Linked DNA regions of Homo sapiens: region 1 is linked to region 2. Evidence: promoter capture Hi-C in 16 types of primary human blood cells and fetal thymus (Javierre and others, 2016). All regions are on one chromosome and are shown on one strand. Each heading gives the region's core, a stretch centred on a gene start or on the middle of the fragment in contact. The rest is flanking DNA. Distances are from core to core; before and after follow the strand shown. Region 1 has its middle 67 kb from the start of LINC01488. Region 2 holds the start of MRGPRF (MAS related GPR family member F).

What was found. Contacts are between HindIII fragments. The CHiCAGO score rates a contact against its expected background, and 5 or more counts as called.
Region 1: a contact is called between a fragment that was not itself captured here and the fragment with the promoter of MRGPRF in region 2, in 1 of 17 cell types (naive CD4 T cells). The highest score is 5.2, in naive CD4 T cells.

Annotation. Positions count from the first base shown.
Region 1 is chr11:69,547,481-69,550,180 of GRCh38, reverse strand. No RefSeq gene overlaps it. Among named protein-coding and RNA genes, the nearest start is that of LINC01488, 67 kb to the right of the region's middle. The HindIII fragment of the contact is 175 bases long and covers 1,217-1,391 here.
Region 2 is chr11:69,011,994-69,014,693 of GRCh38, reverse strand. It overlaps MRGPRF (MAS related GPR family member F), which reads left to right and starts at 1,448. Exons shown (of 3, transcript NM_145015.5): 1 at 1,448-1,611. It overlaps MRGPRF-AS1 (MRGPRF antisense RNA 1), which reads right to left and starts at 2,340. Exons shown (of 6, transcript NR_120541.1): 1 at 2,146-2,340; 2 at 790-903; 3 at 378-563; 4 at 103-253. The HindIII fragment of the contact is 10,508 bases long and covers 1-2,700 here.

The DNA.
Region 1 (2,700 bases), core at 55-2,554, 540 kb before region 2:
TACAAAAATTAGCTGGGTATGGTGGCAGGTGCCTGTAATTCCAGCTACTCAGGAGACTGAGGCAAGAGAATTGCTTGAACCCAGAAAGTGGAGGTTGCAGTGAGCTGAGATTGTGCCATTGCACTCCAGCCTGGTCAATAGAGCGAGACTCCATCTCGAAATTAAAAAAAAAAAAATCACTCCAGTTGTGCATTGTTAGTGTATAGAAATAAGATTAATTTTTGTGTGGTGATCTTCTATCTTAGGACCTTGAAAACCTGCTTGTTAGTTCCAGGAGTCTTTTTTTAAAAAAATATAGGCTTCTTGGGATTTTCAGTGTGGTTATGTTGCCTGAGGACAGGGACAGTTTTATTTCTTTCCAATCTGCAAGGCTTTCATTTCTTTTTTCTTGTCTTATTTTATTGGCTAAGATTTCTACTATGATATTGAATAGAATGGTGAGAGTGTCTATGCTTGCCTTGTTCCCAATCTTTGGGGGAAAGTCTTTACTTATTAAGCATGATGCTAGATATAGGATTTTTGTTGATGTCCTTTATCAGATGGAAGAAGTTCCCTTCTATCGGTATTTTGCTGAGAACTTTATCATGAATGGATGCTTCATTTTGTTAAATGCTTTTTCTGTGTCTGTTGAAATGATCATATGTTTTTTCTTTAGGTTATTGATAAGGTGGATTCCACTGATGGATATTTGAGTACTGAACCATCCTTGCCTTCTGAGAATAAACCCCACTGGGTGGTGGTGTATTTCATATAATGCTGGACTTTATTTACGGATATTTTGCTGAGGACTTCTGTGTTTGTGTTTATGTAGGAATCTGGTCTGTAGTTTTCCTTTTTGGTACAGTCTTTTTCTAGTTTTGAGGCAATGCTCATATAATGTGTCATGAAGTAGTCTTTAATCTTTTATTTTCTGGGTAACAATCAATGTTATTTCTTCTTTCAATGTTTGGTAGAATTAGCCAGTGAAACCATGTGGGACTGGATATTTATTTTTTGAAAACAAATAGAAAACTATGCATTAAACGTGTTTAATAGTTATAGGAGTATTCAAGTTATTTATTTAATCTTGGATGAATTTTGGTAGTTTGTGTCCAAGAAATTCATTCATTTTGTCTAAGATGTAGAATTTAGGTGCACAGAATTGTTCATAGTATTCCTTTCAATCATTATTGACACCTGTGAGGTATTCTTTTCTCTTTGTTAGTTTGCTAAAGCTTCATCAATTTTATCGATCTTTTTAAAGAGCCATATTTTGGTTTTATTGATTTTTCTCTTTGGTTTTTCTGATTTCAATGTCATTGATTTCTGTTCTTGTCTTTATTATTTCCTTCCTTCTGTTTACTTTGGATTTATTTTGCTCTTCCTTTTCTAGTTTCTTAAGAATAAAAGCTTAGCTTATTGATTTGAGACGTTTCTTCTTTATAATAGCATTTAATACTATAAATTTCCCTCTAAGCCCTGCTGTAGCTGCTTTTCATACATTTTGACATGTTGTATTTTCATTTATGTTTAGTTCAAAATGTTTTGAAGTTTCTCTTGAGACTTTGAGTCATACATTATTTCAAAGTGTGGTGTTTAACTTCCAAGCGCTTGAATATTTTTCTCTGATTTTTCTGTTATTAATTTGTAGTTTAATTGCATTATAGGACATATTTTGTATAATTTAAATTCCCTTAACTTTGTTAATGTTTGTTTTATGACATAATATAGTCTGTCTTGCTGAATACTCCATGTGCACTTGAAAAATATGTTTTATGCTTTTTTGGGTAGAATGCTCTTTTTTTTTTTTTTTGAGGCAGGGTCTCACTCTGTTGAAGTTATGTGATCATAGCTCACTGCAGCCTCAAACTCTTGGGCTCAAGAGATCCACCCTCCTCAGCCCCCCAAAGTGCTGGGATTGCAGGCAAGAGCCACCACCCCTGGTTGGCAGAATGTTCTAAATGTCTCATAGATCCAGATGATAATAGTATTGTTAGGTTCTTCTCTATCCTTGATGATTTTCTATTAGTTCTGTTATTGAGGGAGGAGTGTTGAAGTTTCCAACTATTAACTATGGATTTATCTATTTCTTTTTTCAGTTCTGTCAGTCTGTAAGCTTTATGTCTTTGGAAGCTCTGCTCTTAGGTGATACACATTTGGGGTTTTTGTAGTGTCCGTAGTGAATTGATTCTTTTTTTCTTTTTTTTTTTTTTTGAGATGGAGTCTCGCTCTGTCGCCCAGGCTGGAGTGCAGTGGCGCCATCTCGGCTCACTGCAACCTCTGCCTTCCGGGTTCAAGCGATTCTCCTCCTCAGCCTCCTGAGTAGCTGGGATTACAGGTGGGCATGACCATGCCTGGCTAATTTTTGTATTTTTACTAGAGACGGGGTTTTACCATGTTGGTCAGGCTGGTCTCAATCTCTTGACCTCATGATCCACCTGCCTCGGCCTCCCAAAGTGCTGGGATTATAGGCATGAACCACCACGCCTGGCCTGATCCTTTTTAGCAGAATGTAATGCCCCTTTTTATGCTGGAGCTTTTCTTTGCTCCAAAGTTGACTTTGTCTGAAATTAATGTAGCTACTCAACACACAGCGAGTTTTTAATTTTAGTAATTACATTTTTCATTTCTAGAAATTCTGCCTTTTTTCAAAACTTGTTGGTCATTTTTTATGGATCCCTCGATCATGTTTTAAGTTTCACTTTTATTTCTTTAAACATA
Region 2 (2,700 bases), core at 199-2,698:
CACACCAAGCCCACGGGAAGGGGACTCCACAAACTCAGGCCAGGACGACCTTCCCGTTTACAAGCGCCTCTCGCTTATTTTGAGAGAAACAGATTTCCATACCAAATAAGGCGGTGGACTTCAGAGCCTCTGCCCACTTCACACAATTCCTTTTAAGTGTCCAAACGCAATTACACTTGGAACTCGCCGGGATTCAGCCTCCCCCGGCCTCCCCATGTAAACAAGCGTTCCAGCTGGGCCCCAGCTGGCTGCCCTGGAGAGGAGGGGACGGGTCACCACCCTGCCTGCTGCCTCCAGCCTCTCTCTCAGCCTCAGGCATGGCCCGTGAGCCTCCAGGATCCCAGAGTCCCTCCTCACCCCATCCCTGAAAAACGGACCCCAGGAGGCCAGCTGAGCCGCGCAGGGAGCAGTGCGAGAGTCCCTCTTCCACGCTGAGGTTCGCACATGGCCAGGACAAGCAGGAGGCAGGCAGCTCCCAGCGCAGGTGCAGGGGCAGCTCCGCTTCTCATTTCCCTTCAAGATGCCCACAGAGGCACATCTCTCCCAGTCTGGGCACTACACTCCTGCAGGGAAAGTTCAGAATTCCCTCGGGCTTCCTGGACCCTGAGAAAGTTGGCCCAGGGTAGGAGGGGAGCCTTCTCATCACCCCCTCCTCCTGGCCACCCTGCTGGCTCCCGCACCCCCGACTCTGCACCCCCACCCCTACCAATGCTCAGTGCCCCAGGCATGAACGCGTTCCAGGACCCCCCCCCACCGCCCGCCTCCAGGGGCTCAATGGGGAAGGGGGACCTGACTCATCCTCCCGCTGAGCAGCGCAGGCACCAGGCACCACAGCCCGCCAATTTCCAGCTTGCTTGCCGAGCGCCGTGATTTTCCACTTGCGCCATCTGATTGCTATTAGGGCTGGGGAAAAGGGAATTCCTGGTTCCATAAGCCCCCAGGGGGCCCAGGCCGAGTCCGGGGTGGGAAGGGGGAGGGGTGCCGCTTGGGCGGTGCTGACCACCTCTGCCAGTTCTGCACTGCCCCTCCATGGAGCCCTCGCCCTGCTGCCCCCCACTGCTCTGTATCAGCCCCTGAGTAAATTAAAACAACGGGGTGGGGACTAGCCCCTCCTGGGCCAGCCTGCCCCGAAATGCCCACTGGGGGCAGACCAAAGACGCCAGGCAAGTGTACAGCCGGTGCTCCCTCTCCTGGGCAGCCCTGCCGAGCAGCAGAATGTGAGGGAGATGAACAGCTGGACTCGGGCTGCAGTGCTCGGGCCAACGTGACGTCACCAGGCGGAGAGATGAGTTCCCGGTGGGGCTCTGGGGGGGGCTCCTGAGCGGGGCATTCCTTCCTGAAGCCTCATCCCCGCTCAGCCCTGCTCAGCCCCTCCTCCTACTCCCCTCCCCCTCCCCCTCCTGCCGGGCCAGGAATTGGGTTTGGGGCGGGTTCTGCTTCCAAAGCCATCTCTTCCAGCAGGAGAGGGCTCTACTCTGAGCTCCTATTTTCCAAGGCTCCGGGCCGCGCTCGGCGCTGGCCTGCTGCCCCGGCGGGTCCGCCGGCCGGAGGCGGGAGTCACAGGAAGAGCCCTCCACAAAAGGAGGCCTCGGCGGATCAGGACAGCTGCAGGTAGCTCCAGGGGCCCAGGGTCCAGGGGAGGGTGTTCCAACAACCGGGGCTGCAGGGTGAGGGCCAGGCAGGGAAGGAAAATGACGCGGGCACTGTAGGGGCAGAGAGGTGGACGCTGTCGGGGCAGGCAGCTCCCAGAAATCCTAAGGCCCCAGGCAGGGAGCCCTGAGACCCCAGAGAGGCTGTCACTCACCGGAGAAGCTCCCCTGCCACTCCTGAGGCTCCAGGGTTCCAGGGCCATGGAGGAACTTTAAAAGTCCCCCTCCCGTGGCAGGACCTGACCCCTCTCAGCTGGCCTCACCCCCAGCCCCACCGTCCAGCTCCTGCTCTGTGCTGCTGGGGGTGAGGGCTCCCTCTCGGTCCCTCCCCCAGCCTCACTGGCCATTCAAGCATGCATTCTAGAGGGGCTGGAACGGAACACCCAGCAGGCAGTGTCCCACACACAGGGAGATGGCTCCCCCTGCTCTCAGCCCTGGGGTGCACATGGGGTGTCCGTGTGGGCAGCCACAGGATGTTGGGCAACTGCAGTCCCACCTTCTCCCAGGCCTGCGGCCTGATGAAGCTGTTGGCCTTGGATGGAGGCGGCTCCTGGAATGATCTGCAAGGTCTCAGTCCCCCCAGACAAGCCTCTTCAATCCAAGCTGTTAAGCAGGGGACTCCAGACCCGGAGTGAGGAAAACAGAGGCTCTGTGTCTGGGGGAGCGAGACAGGCCCCTCTGATGGCGGCACAAGCGGCTAAGGAGAGGGGCTGGGACAGCCCCAGCGGCGTCGGGGCTGGGTCATGGTGGGATGGAGTGAAGGGAGAGGAGGAGCTTCCTGCGGGCAAGGCTGCAGGAGGCTGACAGGTGGCCAGGCCACCCTTGGGCTTGCTCCGAGGGGAGGGTCAGGTGTGAGCTGTGCTGGCAGCTTTTTGGGTCAGCTTCAGTGGAAACTAGTTCTGTCATAGCAGCCCAGATCCCACCCAGAGGAACACACATACACATGTACTGACACGCACGCCCCATCCACGTGTCACACACATGTCCTTTAATATGGCCCATCTGGGGTCTGCTGGCTTCTAGATCTTTCTGTGCATGCGTGAAATCGCTT